Regions from separate parts of the Homo sapiens genome. Here regions 1 and 2 are each linked to region 3. The links are contacts of gene promoters, found by promoter capture Hi-C in blood cells and fetal thymus (Javierre and others, 2016). All regions are on one chromosome and are shown on one strand. The core of a region is centred on a gene start or on the middle of the fragment in contact, and the rest is flanking DNA. Distances in the headings are between cores, read along the strand shown. Region 1 has its middle 96 kb from the start of GLI2. Region 2 has its middle 46 kb from the start of GLI2. Region 3 holds the start of INHBB (inhibin subunit beta B).

Evidence for each region. Contacts are between HindIII fragments. The CHiCAGO score rates a contact against its expected background, and 5 or more counts as called.
Region 1: a fragment that was not itself captured here is called in contact with the fragment with the promoter of INHBB in region 3 in 1 of 17 cell types (endothelial precursors); the score reaches 5.1 in endothelial precursors.
Region 2: a contact is called between a fragment that was not itself captured here and the fragment with the promoter of INHBB in region 3, in 2 of 17 cell types (M0 macrophages and M1 macrophages). The highest score is 5.7, in M0 macrophages.

What each region holds. Positions count from the first base shown.
Region 1 is chr2:120,638,483-120,641,336 of GRCh38, reverse strand. No RefSeq gene overlaps it. Among named protein-coding and RNA genes, the nearest start is that of GLI2, 96 kb to the left of the region's middle. The HindIII fragment of the contact is 1,499 bases long and covers 813-2,311 here.
Region 2 is chr2:120,688,078-120,690,777 of GRCh38, reverse strand. No RefSeq gene overlaps it. Among named protein-coding and RNA genes, the nearest start is that of GLI2, 46 kb to the left of the region's middle. The HindIII fragment of the contact is 5,337 bases long and covers 1-2,700 here.
Region 3 is chr2:120,344,879-120,347,675 of GRCh38, reverse strand. INHBB (inhibin subunit beta B) reads right to left here and starts at 1,540. Exons shown (of 2, transcript NM_002193.4): 1 at 1,040-1,540. The coding sequence starts at 1,487. LOC105373989 (putative cuticle collagen 91) reads right to left here. Exons shown (of 3, transcript XM_047446882.1): 3 at 1,683-2,789. The coding sequence ends at 1,762. The HindIII fragment of the contact is 14,502 bases long and covers 1-2,140 here.

The DNA of each region.
Region 1 (2,854 bases), core at 313-2,812, 290 kb before region 3:
CTATAGCCAGCCTAAAGCATCAACCAAGTGTGAAAATATAATAAAGGTATTTTAAGACATGCAAGGTCTCAAAAATGTTACCTCTGTAACACCCTTCTTAAGAAAGCTACTTGAGGACCACCTCCACCAAAACAAGGGAGTAAACCAAGAAACAGAAGAGCCAGCCCAGGAGAGAGACTGAGGGATTTCCCCAGAAGAGGGACTGAGAGATTTTCCCAAGATTATGGAGAAGAGAGATAGCAGGATGAAGCTTTGTACCCAGCAGGTCAGAAGGCTTGGGGAGGGTCTTCTCCATGCTGACAAAATTGACAGAATACCTGATGGGAAAGAACAAATGCAAAGATAGCTAGACAATGGAGAGTTTGGTATTGAATTAGTGATCAGTACATAGAAAAGAAACAAAACAAGATAATTATTAACTCTTGGGGTGGCAGCAGGGGGGATGTGCAGGAAGGAAAAGCAAATGTAGTTTATTATATAGCTCAGTTCTGAACAAATCGCCGTAACACCATAGACAGTGAATCTTTATCCAACCAATGTCCCACGAATCTCTGCTGGGAGTTTGAGGGAGAGGCAAGTGTGTGTGGTGGGAACAAAGGGTGGCGATGTAGGGATGAGGAGAGCTAAACTCACATCTTCTTGTCTCCCAGAGTTGGGGTCAATGGATAATGCCTAGAATGAAAGCATCAGGAAGTAGCAATACTCACATGTTTTTTGTAGAGATGGAGAGATAAATAGCTAAAAGGGTTGGCATGATAGCACGTAGTGAAAAAGGAAAGGGAGAGGGTAGTGGAAGAGGTCTGGGAAAAGCTTCTTTTCTTAGCAAATCCAGTAAATCTAGTCAACCCTTTAAGTCGTGTCTGTATGTTCTTTTTTTATCATGCATACATTTTAAAATATTAATTCTCTCATGTCAAATATCCAGTCAGTTCAAAATTTCAATTTTTGAATGCATGTTCCTTTTTAAAAAGTTTGTTAGAACTTAAATCAGGGGCCAGGCGCAGTGGCTCATGCCTGTAATTCCAGCACTTTGGGAAACTGAGCAGGCGGATCACCTGAGGTCAGGAGTTCAAGACCAACTTGGCCAACATGGTGAAACCCCGTCTCTACTAAAAATACAAAAATTAGCTGGGCGTGGTGGCACATGCCTGTAATCCCAGCTACTCGGGAGGCTGAGGCAGGAGAATTGCTTGAACCTGGGAGGCAGAGGTTGCAGTGAGCCAAGATTGCGCCACTGCACTCCAGCCTGGGAGACAAAGCAAGACTCCGTCTCAAAAAAAAAAAAAAAAAAAAAGAATCAGGATCCAAATAAGGATCTTTCTCTCTCTTTCTAGTTCTCATTCTCACTTTTGTGCATCCCTCTCCACTTCTGTGCCAGCTATTTGTTTGTTGAAACAGGCCATCTGACCTACAGCTTTTGCTGGATTTTTTTTTTTTTTTTTTTTGAGACGGAGTCTTGCTCTGTCACCCAGGCTGGAGTGCAGTGGCACGATCTCGGCTCACTGCAAACTCCACCTCCGGGGTTCACGCCATTCTCCTGCTTCAGCCTCCAGAGTAGCTGGGACTACAGGCGTCTGCCACCATGCCCGACTAATTTTTTGTATTTTTAGTAGAGACGGGGTTTCACCATGTTAGCCAGAATGGTCTCAATCTCCTGACCTTGTGATCCACCCGCCTCGGCCTCCCAAAGTGCTGGGATTACAGGCGTGAGCCACCGCGCCCGGCCTTTTGCTGGATATTTCTAATTGTGTCTCCATGAACTTGGCTAACATCTCCCTCTGTCCTCTGCACCTGCCGTAGTCTTGTAGTGCAGTCTTGATCAGTTTCAGCGTTGGTGTCTCTTTTTGGCAGATCTTTATCATAGGGGATCTTATATTCTTCCATAAGAGACATATTGGGGGTGATTGTTTTTCATTTTGTGATATTAGCAGTTATTGATCAGAGCTTAGATTCATTAATTCACTAGAGGGTGATGCTCCATCATTCGGCTTTCATTTCCTATCCAGAATACTTCTCTAAAAAGACACTTCTCATCTATTTGGCTACATTGTGATACAGGTCGTATAGGAAAAACAGGGTAAATGTTTGATTCTGTCATTTTATTTTACTAGCTTTTAAAATAATGACTTAGTTCATGAGCCTCCACAGGAGGTGACTAATATTTCTTAACACACTCAGTAAAACTAGCTGACACTTTCTACACCTTTTTAAGATTTTATTTTTATCAAAAACATACACACAATAAAATCTTAAAAAGGTGTATAAAGAAGGAAAAAGAAAAGGAGGAAAACAGATCATTTTTCAGGAAGCTTAAACATTCTTTCATGTCAAGGGCTAAATTTATTCCTACGCTTCTTACCAGCCGATGCCAAGAGGGGAAGAGACGGCCCACGCAGTGTACTCTGGGTTCCATAAGTCAAAGCCTTCATTTGGTCTGAACAAACAAATTTTCTTCCTGCACAAAGAGCATATTGGACATGGCCACCTCTTTTGGCTTGGGGTCATCAGCCTGGATGGTGAGGCTCCTGGGGCTGTGGAAACATGTGAGGATGTTTATCCTTGTACATCACGTGCCCAAGTGTGCTAAGTCACACCTCTGTGCGTTCACCCATACCATTCCCCTGCTTGACCTGCTTGCACTCCAGCATCTGGCCAGTCTCATGCACCCTTCCTGGCTGAGCTCAGGGGTCATCTCCTCCAAGAAAGCTTTCTCATGATTAGGCCAAGTGTCCTCCCACTTCTTCCGGCTCCCGCTGGGCCCTGTACCCCTCCTTGGCTTTCTCATTGCCAAAGCCTTGCCACCTGGAGCACACCCAGCTCATAGTAGGTGCACTGTCCATGGTTTCTAAACTGA
Region 2 (2,700 bases), core at 154-2,653, 340 kb before region 3:
GTGTCTGTCTTCCCCGGGTGATGTCCTCTAGCCTCTGCAGGAGGCCTTCTGAGGCAGGAGCTATGAGGAACCCACATCAACCTCTTTCGTCCCAGTATGCTCTGAGTGCCGCGGAACTCCCCATGACAGAGCAGCCAGCAGCCTCTCTCATCCTTCCTGTTCCTCAGGTGTCACTCAGACGTCTGCCTACTGTGCCCAAACTGCAGCTCTCCAGTCGTCACCTGAACATCCCTTGTTTTTGACTTCTGGTAAAAAGAAGAGCTGCCAGCACCCCAGTGACGTTTTCCAAGGAAACCCCCGTCCCCTCCTCCCTGACCTCCACTTCCCGCTAAACCGCTTTTTGAATATGCGTTCTTTGCAAGTCCTCGTGGGGTTCTTGCACCTCACCTTTACCAGGTCATAACTCTTGTTTTGTGGCCTCAACCAAAATGGAAACCCAAATGGCTGGCAATGTCTGAAGAGGGACTGACATTTCAGATGACTGTAAGTGAAGTTCCTTGGCGTCATTTCCATCATAGCACTTACCCTGTAGTGAAATGAGCTTAGTGAGCCGCTCTCACGGACAGCCAGTCTTGTGGTCACTTAGGGTTTTTTTTCTTTTTCTTTTTTGAGACAGGGTCTCATTGTGTTGTCCAGACTTGCCTGGAACTCCTGGGCTCAAGAGATCCTCCCCCCTCAGCCTCCCATGTAGCTGGGACTACAGGTGTGCACCACCGCACCCGGCTCCTAACTCACTTATGTTTACATGACCAAAAATACACATTTGTTTGCAGGGTTTCTTAACTATCAATGTGTCCAGCTTCCAGTGGAAATTGACTTATGTTTCTGCTTTTTAAAATCTGCAGGGGGGACCTCAATTATTTCAGCTTCCTGGTACATCTCTTCCTCTTTCTGGAACTCTAGGGAGGAGCGGCTTTCTTTCTGCTGGGGTTGCTGAGCTGCTGGGGTGTCAACCAGGAGATGCTGTGGGCCCTCTTCATCCCTCATGAAAACAGTCTGCCTGACACCAAAGGCATCTCAGAGAAAAGCAGAGGCAGAGGTGGAGAGAATCTGAGCTGGTGCCAGACAGCACCCGTACACTCAGATCCAGCTATACGTGAAGCTGTGGCTCTACCCAGGACTTTTTACTGATGTGAGTCAGGATCCAAATCTGGAGGCTTGAAAATCCAGCCCTTTCCTTCTTTCCTCCTTCTTAGTACAATCATGGAATCTAACATTACATGAGACCGTCCATATTTGTTGAGCTGATATTGACTAAACTGGATTCCATGTTGTGTGGTAGGTCCTGTGCTAGCCACTGCAATCCAGCACTGAATCAGACATGGCCTCTGCTCATAGGCAGCACCCAGTCCTGTTAGCAGCCAGTATTCTCCTCCAGACTTCTACCTTGACTCTAAGCCCTCAATTTTCAAAAATTGGACTTAGAACTGGTGTGGGTTCCACAAAGATTCCTAAAATTTGCTTCCGCATTGGCTTCACTTGTTGTTATTGTCCCTGCCTTACAGATCTCTTCATATCTTCACTCCCAGCCCAGGGAAAGAAGACAGGAAAATAAAACACAGTGGGCACTGGTAGGGTGGGGTCTTGTGACCAAGACAGCCTCAGTCCATCCTCCATGGACTAACACTCCAATTGGTCAACCAAGTGGTGGTAAACGTAGCAGTAGGACTTATGATTGAACCATCAAAATTCATGAAATTAACTGTGTAGTTGGTGAAACGTATTATAGTTCCATCTGTCCTGGGACAATGCTAACTTCACCACATTTTAATCCTGAGTGCTGAAATGAAGGTGTTGCAGCTGGAGAGGTGTGAAATTAATGAGAGAGCATGGAGGTGAACCAAGAAAATAACGAATCAGTCCCTTCCCTGCTCTCTGCTGGTTTCAGACTCCTGAGGGCAGAAGTGCTCGAATGGGCAGACATTTGTCTGGTAGCTCTTAGGTGAACTATATGGAACTATCGATACTCAACTGTTGATCTGCAAAAATGGCAATTTCATATGGTCTGAACTACTCCTGCCATAATCTTTTTTTTTTTTTTTTTTTTTTTTTTTGAGACGGAGTCTTGCTTTGTCACCCAGGCTGGAATGCAGTGGCACAATCTTGGTTCACTGCAAGCTCCACCTCCCAGGTCCACGCCATTCTCCTGCCTCGGCCTCCCAAGTAGCTGGGACTACAGGTGCCCACCACCACGCCCGGCTAATTTTTTGTATTTTTAGTAGAGATGGGGTTTCACCGTGTTAACCAGGACGGTCTCGATCTCCTGACCTCGTGATCCACCCACCTCGGCCTCCCGAAGTGCTGTGATTACAGGCTTGAGCCACCGCACCCAGCCTACTCCTGCCATAATCTTGCAAAACTGGATATTCTAAAGGAAACCAATCCTGATTGATAAAGTGTGGAATTCAGTTGCTCTGTGAATCTTCTACCACAAACACGAAATTTAGTGTCAAGGACATTTTGGTGGTCTGGAGATGGGGTGAGGATGTAATGGTACATTAGAAACATCCCTTCCCCATGCTGTGTGTAAGGTGGTCACATGAGGGCCTGACTTGGAGAAGACCCTGCAACAGGAAGACTCATAGAACCTTGCAAAGTCTCTGCTTCAAGTCAGCCTTAAAGGGGGAACATGGTCCCATTCTTATGGTATGGTGTCACCACATGGCTAGAGAATTCCAATGGCCTCCTCCTCCTCTGGGT
Region 3 (2,797 bases), core at 291-2,790:
CACCGAGGCTCCCCGCTTGCCCCCGCCCTAACTGCACCGGGGCTTCCCCCTCTGCGACCTTCTCCGCAGTCCCCTCGGCACAAATGGGGCCGAGCTCCAGGCACAAAAGCCAGCCTGGCTCATTCAAGTCCTGAAAAGGACAGCGGAGTCGAAAGCACTTGCAGCATTTTGGCGCGGGCACATTTTTCTCCTTCTTTTAAAGTTCCGAAAGATTTTTCTCTCCCTGATTTTTATATTTAGACAGTGTTAGAGATTTGCAATCTGGGGCCGGGGGGGGGGGCGGATTCCAGAAAGGAGCCATACCCTTTGTTAACTACGACTCTGCCTCTCGGGCGAGGGGTCTGCTGCAGCTGCCAGGCAAGCCGAGAGGCACGGGGCTGTCCCCGAACCGCGGCTTTCTCTGTGTAAATGATGGACCTGTTGAGAAGCCTGCCTTCCGCCCGATTCCGGTGCCCACACAATCGGAAGAGAGGTTGCCTAGCTCTCCCCAGCGAGGCTTCAGCAATCCTGGCAAGCCCACGCCGCCGGTGATGGAAGCGGCCCCAGGGGCCTCTCACGCAGGCACACACACACACAGACACACACACAGATACACACACACTCTCTCTCTCCTCCGGCCCACGTATATCAACAAGCACACACATCTCCATCCACACTGCTAAGCCTACACTCCGATCGTGGGAAACAAAAACATTAAGCAATCACCAAGCAAGTGCCCGCAGAGCCAGGGCCGCGCGCATCTGCCGGGAGGGGGACGCGCGCCCAGAGGCGCTGGGGCCCGATTCCGGAGAGCAGGGGTGGAGGGCCAGGCGATCGGCGGCGGGGGGTTGAGGCAGCAGGCAAGGGTCTGCGGCCTGGGGGAAGAGGACTGCAACCCGGGCGGAGCGCGCAGGGCCACGGCCGAAGGAGCTCTGCCGGGAGTCCAGGCTGCCCCAGGGCGCGCGGGCTGCGGTGGCGGCGGTGGCAGCCGGAGCTAGCAAGGAGAGGGAGAGCGGGAGCGAGCGGGGACCGCGGCAGACAGCCGGAGGGCCGGACCCACCTGTCTCGGCGAAGCTGATGATTTCGGAAACGCGCTCCTGGCCGTCGGCGCCCGGGCTGGCGTGGCCGTCGAGGTGCGGGATCTCCACGCGGCCGTCCTCGCGCACCTTGCCCGCGTGCAGCTTGCGCAGGGCCGTGACCATGGCGGCCTTAGGCACGGCGTGCGTGATGTTGGGCCGGCCCCGCATCTGCAGGCGGCTCAAGATGTGCCGCTTCACCGCCTCCAGGAAGTCGCCGTCCACTCGGCCGAGCTCCTCTGGCCGCCGGAAGCCGCCGCACGACGTACAGGTGTCCTGCGAGCCACCCGGGGATCCGGGTGGCGGGGGTGGCGGCGGCGCGGCAGGCGTCGGCGGGGGCGTGGGTGAGCCCCAGGCCTCAGGCCCCAGCCAGCCGGCCGCCAGCAGCAGAAGGCAGGCGGCCCCCAGCGCCCGACCGGGCAGCCCGTCCATGGTGCGCCGCTGGCGACGAGGGCGCCCGCCGCGAGGCGAGCCGAGTCGAGCCGAGCGCAGGGCCGGGCTCCGGGCTCCGGGCGCGCCGCCCCGCCCCGCCCCCGCCCGCGCCCGCGCCCGCCCGGGCCTCCGCCCGCCCGCCCGCCGGGAGGGCTGCCGCCGGCTCGCAGGGGGAGGGGGCCGGCCGGGCCTCGGGGGTTCCCGCGCGGCAGGGAAGGGGCGCCGAGGGCCCCGGGGGCCCGAGGGGCGCGCCGGGCGGGGCGGAGGTCGCGGGTCACTGCCGCACGGGCGTCTCGGGGCGCCTCGGCATCTGCAGCCTTCTCCCCATCCTTTCCGCGTCGGGGGCCCCGCAGCCCCGGTTCGGGTGAAGCGAAAGCAGCGTCAGTGGGAGCGGCGGTTCGGCCGGCGGCTGGGGAAGGTGGCGAAAGAGCGGGTCCACGCAACTTGGCTGAGACGGAAGCGAAGGCGCTGGAGCCCCCCGGAGCGGAGCCGGGCGCGGCTTGGCGCGGCGCTGCGGCGGGCGCTGCGGCGGGGCCCCGCGCTCGCACCTGAGCGCCTCGCCCTCACTGCCTCGCGCCAGGAAGGGCCGCCGGCGGCGGAGACGGGCAGGTCGTCCTCGCCGCGGGCCGGCGGGCAGTGGCGCGGAGCAAGCTTGGTGCCCGGGAGAGCCGGCCGCGCGGGCCCGCTCACAGGCGGCGCCGAGCCCTCGGCCGCGGGCCCTGCAGTCCTCCCGGCGCGTCACACGGCAAAGTTGTCTCCAGGATCCCTGGGCGCCGCATCCACGGGCGGGCGGCCGCAGCGCGCTTCGCCGGGGCCTCTGCTCCGCCCGCCTCCTCGCAGCCTCCCTCCTTCCCTCCGCCTGCCTGCGCGGCCCGGCCGGGCGCGGGGCGCCGGGCGAGGAAGGCGAGGGGGAGGCAGGGCCCTTCTCGCTCCTGTCTCTTCTGCCTGCCGCGGCGGCGGCGAGGTCGGCTCGAGCGCCGAAAAGTCTCGCAGCGTCCCCGGGTGCAGTGCCCTCGCTCGCGCTCGTACTGGCACCCGCCGCAGGGCCGGGAGAGAGCGGGCGGGCGGCGGCGGCGTCCCCGCGCCGGGCCGCGGCACGGAGTGCGGAGCTCGCCGAGGAGGAGTTCTTCTCTTTGGTCTCTCTTCTTTTACTCTCCCCGTTTTTTCTCCCAAGGGGGAAAAAAGCCGCACAATCTCCGTATGTGCGCGCGCGTTGAGATAGACGTTGGCAGAAAAAAGGGGGGGAGGGAGGGTGTCGTCCTGCCCGTGCGAGAGGAGACGGTCCGTACCTCCCCGCTCGAGCTTCCCGG